2 separate regions of the Homo sapiens genome follow, and region 1 is linked to region 2. Evidence: promoter capture Hi-C in human tissues and cell types (Jung and others, 2019). All regions are on one chromosome and are shown on one strand. Each heading gives the region's core, a stretch centred on a gene start or on the middle of the fragment in contact. The rest is flanking DNA. Distances are from core to core; before and after follow the strand shown. Region 1 holds the start of PISD (phosphatidylserine decarboxylase). Region 2 holds the start of RFPL2 (ret finger protein like 2).

Evidence for each region. Contacts are between HindIII fragments. The study calls those that stand out against the background at their distance.
Region 1: a contact is called between the fragment with the promoter of PISD here and the fragment with the promoter of RFPL2 in region 2, in 4 of the 25 tissues and cell types used here (heart left ventricle, liver, mesendoderm cells and 1 more).

What each region holds. Positions count from the first base shown.
Region 1 is chr22:31,660,771-31,664,642 of GRCh38, reverse strand. PISD (phosphatidylserine decarboxylase) reads left to right here and starts at 2,428. Exons shown (of 8, transcript NM_001326411.2): 1 at 2,428-2,499. The coding sequence starts at 2,435. RefSeq lists enhancers at 2,388-2,687, 2,928-2,977, 2,195-3,394, 3,368-3,507, 2,803-3,696 and 1 more. The HindIII fragment of the contact is 10,896 bases long and covers 1-3,872 here.
Region 2 is chr22:32,203,729-32,207,507 of GRCh38, reverse strand. RFPL2 (ret finger protein like 2) reads left to right here and starts at 2,435. Exons shown (of 5, transcript NM_001394555.1): 1 at 2,435-2,801. It overlaps SLC5A4-AS1 (SLC5A4 antisense RNA 1), which reads right to left and starts at 2,393. Exons shown (of 4, transcript NR_149072.1): 1 at 2,261-2,393; 2 at 232-372. RefSeq lists an enhancer at 261-991. The HindIII fragment of the contact is 14,140 bases long and covers 1-3,779 here.

The DNA.
Region 1 (3,872 bases), core at 1,179-3,678, 540 kb after region 2:
TAACGTCATATACAAGAAATCATTGCTAAATCCAACGTCATGAAGATTTCCCCTATGTTTTCGTCTAAGAGTATTATAGTTTTAGCTCTTCAGTTTACATCTCTGATCCATTTTGAATGAATTTTTGTATATGGTGTAAGGCTGCACTTTACTTTTTGTATATGGATATTCAGTTTTCCCAATGCACTTCATTTGGAAATAATTTCCCCCCATTCCCTGCTGGTTTACTACTCTCAATTGGATAGTAAAACCAATTAAACCAATATGTATTTTTTTTTTAAATGGTGTCTCACTCTGTCTCCCAGGCTGGAGTGCAATGGCATTATCTCAGCTCACTGCAACCTCCCCCTCCCGGGTTCAAGCAATTCTCGTACCTCAGCCTCTGGAGTAGCTGGGATTACAGGCAGGCGCCACTATGCCCAGCTAATTTTTGTATTTTTAATAGAGATGGGGTTTCACCATGTTGGCCAGGCTGGTCTCGAACTCCTGACCTCAGGTGATCCGCCCGCCTTGGCCTCCCAAAGTGCTGGGATCATAGGGTGAGCCACGGTGCCCAGCCTCTTAAAAAAAAAAAAAAAGAGATGGAGTCTCACTATGTTGTCCAGGCTGGTCTCTTTTTTACTTCCTTTTTTTTTTTTTTTTTTTTTTTGAGACGGAGTCTCACTCTGTCACCCAGGCTGGAGTGCAATGGCGCGATCTCGGCTCGCTGCAAGTCCGCCTCCCGGGTTCACGCCATCCTCCTGCCTCAGCCTCCAGAGTAGCTGGGACTACAGGCGCCCGCCACCACGCCCGGCTAATTTTTTTTGTATTTTTAGTAGAGATGGGGTTTCATCGTGTTAGCCAGGATGGTCTCAATCTCTTGACCTCGTGATCCGCCCACCTCGGCCTCCCAAAGTGCTGAGATTACAGGCGTGAGCCACCGCGCCCGGCCCAGGCTGGTCTCAACTCCTTGGCTCAAGCTATCCTCCCACCTCAGCCTCCCAGTGAGTGGGGATTGCAGGCGTGAGCCACTGCGCCCGGCCAAAACCAATTCTATACATTTGTTTTTTTCTTTTCCGACTTTTGAAAACCATGACAAAGGGAGGTTTCTTCCCCCCAATACCAAACCTGGTGCCTTTTAAGCTCTCTGTAGGAGCTGAGTATGCCCTAGTTGAACTTAAGCCAACTACACAGAAATACCTGCAGGGACCAGGGAGCATATTCCTCCTCCTGTCAAATGCCTGGTGAAGGCAACTGTGATTATCAGCTTAGCAGATGAAAAAGTAGGGCTGCATTCCTTCAGTTGTTGGACCCAAATTCTGCCAGATTCTGACAAAGGGCTTAAAAGGAAGAATGTTTAGGCCAGGTGCGGTGGCTCACGCTTGTAATCCCAGCATTTTGAGAAGCCGAGGCGGGCGGATCACGAGGTCAGGAGATCGAGACCATCCTGGCTAACATGGTGAAACCCCGTCTCTACGAAAAATATATATAAAAAAATTAGCCGGGCGTTGTGGCGGGCGCCTGTAGTCCCAGCTACTCGGGAGGCTGAGGCAGGAGAATGGCGTCAACCCGGGAGGCGGAGCTTGCAGTGAATCGAGATCGCGCCACTGCACTCCAGCCTGGGCGACAATGAGAGACTCTGTCTCAAAAAAAAAAAAAAAAGAAGAAGATGTTTAGGACATGGTTTTTGGAGTCAGAGACGTATGTTCAAATTCTGGCTTCACTATTTTATAGTCTTTGGGCATATGCCCTTTATGTACCCTTGAAGATGTTGCTTAACCTTCCTGAGCCTCAGGTACCTCATCTTTAAAATGGGGATAATGTCTCGGGCCTAGCTGCGAGTCTCTAGTCAGTGCTCAGTAAAAAGTAGCAGACATGATTGAAAACTCGTTTTCCTCTTACAATTGAAGATAGGAACCTTTTCAAGAGCAAGCACCAGGCACCGAATTTAACGACTGGTTGCATTTCTAGGTGATCCAAGACCGTTTGCCCCCGGTCTCCCTGGCAGCACAGCGGTAGGAGATAAGAATGATATGACACCATGCTTGCAAAGTGCTCACAACACACTCCGGCGCTTAAAAAACGAGAGCTGAGTCATGGATGCCCAGTTTCCCCATCCGTAAAATGAGCAAGTTCGATCACTTGAAACGACATTCTTGGATCTTGGATGACTCAGATTTTCCAGGTACATGAGGAAAGGCACCCAGAGGGAAGGAGGAGGAGTGGCAGTGCTGCGACCAAGCCCAGGTTTAGCGAAACCTACAGCTCCACTAGTTCCCCTACCTCCGCAGGTGCCAAGCGGGTTAGGTGGGGAGTAGCCACAGGGCGGAGCTTAGTCGGCTCCGCCCCCAACCCGCGCTTTTCTCATTGGCCCACTGAACTCGAGACTCGTGACGCCTTAAGCGTGCGCCCAGCGTGTGAAGGGGGCGTGGCACGCTGAGAAGGAGCAGACAAGATGGCGACGTCCGTGGGGCACCGATGTCTGGGATTACTGCACGGGGTCGCGCCGTGGCGGAGCAGGTATAGCAGCGCGGAGAGACTACCTTGGGGCGTGGGGCAACCTGGACCAAGCTGGGGTCTGAAGAGAGATGTTTCTGTGTCGCGGGCTCGCTCTGAGGCGAGCTCGGGTGGAGACGGAGCCACCTTCACCTCGAGCTTAGGAGCAGGTGCGACTGCTCCTGCGTAGGGCGGTCCGGATTTACTTAGGGTGTGGCCTAGAAGCTCGCGCTTTGCCCTTTCCAGCTAGGTGGAAGTTCACGAGGGACAAAAATCAGATGAAATAGGCTACCTGCCCGTCTCTTGAGTCGAGGCAGGGCTTTCAGATGTTCAGATGCCATTTTCTCGTGTGTTCGTTTTCGTAGAAGGAATGATGTCCTGTGGGAAGGACACTAGATTGAGTGTCAGGCAACTTTCATTTCTGGATCTTAGTCTTTGAAGCTAGAGGGTTAGGTTAGGTAATCTCAAAACAATATGTTATGGGGCTAGAGTCTTGGTTACCCTTGTGACCCCCAGCTGTTAGATTCTTAGAAATGTGGGAGACTTGAGGGGTCTTCTGAGTCCAGCTGTCTCTCTTTGGAGTTAATGAGATTGAGGCTCCGAGAGAGGGAGGGATTTGCTCAAGTTCACCTAGCCAGTTTGTAGCAGAGCCCGGACCCCCATCAAGGTACCCCCTCACGCGACGATCTTTCTCTCAGGCTGCCCGCCGTGAGGGCAGTGGTTATACAGAAAATAGCTTAGAGCATTTGGAGTGTCGGAAAATGGATTAAAATGTAGCTGTGATTCAGAGTCGGCTGCCTGGTGTCATTTCAAAGAGCTAAGATTTGAGAGATGCGCCATACTTGTGTGTTTCCTACAGGGTTCATTTTGTCAGCGTTGATCAGAGGATAACCTATTGTTTTGGGAGGAGACGGACACTGGATTTGGACTGAGAGGGAACAGAAACCATCATTGGTCTTGTTATGAAAGCGTCACTCTTTCATCATTAACTGTACAGAAATGATTATCTCTCAGGAGAGGGCTCTGCATTGTGGTGGTAACTGTTAGAATTTGGGCAGGAGACTTTGTTTTCAATGTTATTACCAGGCGTGCTGTGTATGAGTCAACCCTGAATTCATTTAAAGTGTGTCACAGGCTGGGCGCGGTGGCTCACGCCTGTAACCTCAGCACTTTGGTAGGCCAAGGTGGGTGGATCACTTGAGGTCAGGAGTTCGAGACCAGCCTGGCCAATGTGGTGAAACCCTGTCTCTACTAAAAAATACAAAAATTAGCCGGGCATGGTGGCAGGCACCTGTAATCCCAGCTACTTGGGAGGCTGAGGCAGGAGAATTGCTTGAACCTGGGAGGCGGAGGTTGCAATAAGCCAAGACTGCGCCGCTGGAGTCCAGCCTGGGCGA
Region 2 (3,779 bases), core at 1,186-3,685:
GGTCAGCCCTGGAGCGCTCCTACCCGCCTTCCCAACCTCCAGACTTGCTGCTGCTGCCACCACTAGCACTGATGCCAATACAACCACTGTTCCTGTTGCCCTCAGTCCACTGGTCCACCCTACAAGGCTCCTACCACCTGGATACCACAGCAGGCCTGCCCTTGCCCAGGCAGCAGCCAGCCGCCCTCCTACTGCTCTGGCACTCTGCAGTCTCCATTGCTGCTCTCCTACCGCTCTGGTGCTCTGTAGTCTCCATCGCCACCACCAACCACAGCAAGGTGAGCTGCGGTGCCCCCAGCTCCAGCCTCCAGCATGGAATAAGTGGCTCCTCCTCCTGGCACGGAGCAACTGGGCAGGCAAAGTCAGATAAGCCTAGAACAGGATGCAGAGAGTGGTAGCATTAGAGTCTCACCTTGTCATGCTGGCCACTAGGTGGCAGGGGCCAGTTTTAGCAAAGGCACTCACACCTACCCTCCAAAGCCCAGCCTCCCTTTTTGGCCCAAGTTCACCAGGAACTGGGGCCTGGGGTGGGGACTGGAGACACCACAGTACAGCGTCCGGGCTTCCCACTCGGCACGAATCGCTGGGCCCACCCCTGGCTGCGCTCCTCAGGAAGCAGAAGCAGCAGAAACTCAACCCCAGCCAGCCCTCCCCACCCAAGTGCCGGTACCTCTTCCTGACACCTCCACCCACAGGGCCCTGTCACTCCATGATGTCCGCTACTGTGTGCCCAGGGGTCCCAGACGGTCTCAGCAACACATGGTGAGAGGGCGCGCGCCTGGGAACCACAGCAGGTCTAGGGGCCGGGCCGTGCTCAGGATCCCCGCAGAAATGCTGTGTGCTGGCCAGGAGCAGAAGGAGATGGCCCTCTAGAGACTGGAGTCCCTCTCACCTCCTCTGACCACCGCTGTCACTGACACCTCCGCTGCCCACCACCAGGGGGACGGTGCAGCCCCCGATAGCGCCCCCGACCCTCCCCCACAGCTGGCAGTGTAGCACCAGATGGCAACCCCAACCCGCCCCTGCCTCGGACACTGCAGCACCAATGGCACCCGCAACCCACCCCCTGCCTTGGGCAGCGCAGCCCGGGATAGCGCCCCCAACCCGCTCCCTGCCGTAGGCAGTGGCTGTAGACAGTGTAGCCATGGGTAGCGACCCCAACCAGACCCCTGCCGTGGGCAGTGATGCCCCGATATGGCACCCAAATCGCCCCCTACCCCGGGCAGTGCAACCCTGGATAGTGCCCCTACCTGCTCCCCACCAGGAGAAGCAGCCCAGGATAGCACCCTCAACCCACTTCCTGCCTCCAGGCAGTGCAGCCACAGATAGCACCCAAACTTACTCCCCACCTCGGGCAGTGCGGCCACAGACAGCTCACCTAAACCACCCCCTGCCAAGGGCAGTGTAGCCCCCTATAGTGCACCCAACCTGCCCCTGCTGCAGCCAGTGCAGCCCCAGATAGCACACCCACCCGCTCCCTGCTAGGCAGTACAGACCCCTGATAGCACCCAACCCACCCCTCCACCGCAGGCAGTGTACCCGGCCCTCAATAGCGCCCCCAACCAACGCCCCCACCCCCTCTCCATGGGCAGTCCAGCCCCGGTACCAATCCCAACAACCCCCCGCTACCTGTCTCAGTGTAGCCCCCAGAGAGCGCCCTCAACAACCCCCTCCCCACTGCCAGCAGTGTAGCACCCTATAGTGACCCTAACCCGTCCCCCACCACCAGCATTGCAGCCCCAAATAGTGCCCCCAACCCGCTCCCCACTGTGGGCAGTGCAGCCATGGATAGTGTCCCCAACCAGCTCCCAGATGCAGGCAATGATGCCCTGGATATCACGCCCGCCCCCGTCCCCCACAGGCAGAGTAGCACCGGATAGCAGCACCCACCCTCGCCACCAGCAGTGTTGCACCCACCAGCCCCCCACAACCTGTCCCCAACAAGGGCATCAGGGCATTGCAGCACCTGATAGTTCTACTAACTCACCCCCGCCCCCCGGCCGCGGGCAGTGCATCCCCAGATAGTGCCCCCAAAACTCCCCACTGCCGCAGGAATTACAGCTTCGGATAGCGCCCCAACCCATCTCCAGCCATAGGCTGGATAGCGCCCCCGGATAGCGCCCCCACCCCACTCCCCTCAGCGGGCAGTGACGCCCGAGGTACCACACTCAAGCAGCCCCCCAACACGGGCAGTGACGCCCTGGATAGGGCCCCCAACCCGCCCCCCACGCCACAGGCAGTACGGCCTGGGATAACGAACCTATTCTGCCACCTTTTCACCATTCTGGCTGCGCTGTAGTCACCCTCGCGGCCACCAACCGCAGCAGCGAGGTGAGCCACTGTAGGCTCCAGCCTCCAGCATGCGCGGTAGATGACTCTAGCCTCTGGCATGCGCGGCAAGTGGCTCCTCCTCCTTCTCCTCTAAGCCGGGCACAGAGCAGCTACGCAGGCCGACGCAGATGAGCCTGGAAGGGCAAGCCACCCCTCTTGGCATCCTTTATATACTGAGTTTAATGCAAATGAAGTTTCTCGACTACATAGTCTGATCGGATGAGAGAAACCTCTAGGCCTACTCTGATCGGGCTTTGTTATCTTGTTCTGATTGGTTATCCTAAGACTTGCTGTCATCCAGTCAGAACGTGAAAATAAAGCACAATCAGAGTAGACCTAGAGGTTTTTCTCTCATCCAATCTGAACATGTAGTCCAGAAACCTTACTTGCATAACCTCGGTCTGTGGGGGGAGGGGTTCTTGCCATTCCAGGCACTTCTGCGTCTGCCAGCCCATCTGCTCCATGCCCAGGTTAGAGGAGGAGTCACCTGTCCCACGCTGGAGGCTTGAAAGCCTGCAGCAGCATGGCTCGGCTCGCTGCCGTTGGTGGCGGTGAGGGAGACTAGACCGCAGCCAGAATGTAGAAAGGTGGCGGGGTGGATGAGCTATCCAGGGCTCACTGCCTGCGGCAGGGGGCGGGGAGGGGGACAGGTTGGATGCACGATCTGGAGCTGCACTGCCCGAGGTGGGAGCGGGGGCGGATTGAGGGCGCCATCGTGGGCTACAACCCGGTGGTGGGAGGCGTGTTAGGGGCAGTATTGGGTGCTGCACTGCCTACAGCACGGGAAGGTTGGGTGCTTTACCGGACGTCATTTCCCGCAGCCGCGGGGTGGCTTGCTGGGGGCGCTATCCGTGGCTGCACTGGTCGCGCTGGGGTACGGGTTGGGGGCGCTATCTGGGACATCAGTGCGCATGGCAGGGAACTTGTTGGCTGTGATATCCGAGGCGTCACTGCCCTTGGCTGGGGGCTGGTTGGGGGCTCTATCTATGGGCTACACTGCCTACAGCCAGGAGCGTGTTGGGGCGTTATCGGGGCGGACTGCCAGTGGCGGGGGTGGGGGTGCGGGTTGGGTGCTATCGGGGGGCTTCACTGCCTGGCAGGGAGTGGATTGGGTGCGCTATTTGGGGTTGGACTGCCGGCGGTGGTTGACTCGGTGGGAGGAGAGGGGCAGAGGGAATGGGTTGGATGCACTATCGGGAGCTACACTGCCCGAGGCGAGGGGGAGATGGGGGCGCCATCGTTGGCTACACCGCATGTAGTGGGGGGCGTGTAAGGAGCAGTAGTGCGTGTTGCATTGCTCATGGCGGGGGAGGGTTGGGTGCGTTATCCCGGGCGTCATTTCCCACAGCGGCGGGGGTCAGTGGAGGGGCTTGTTGAGGGCGCTATCCATGGCTGCACTGGTCGCTGAGGGGCAAGGATTGGGGGCGCTACCTGGGACATCAGTGCCA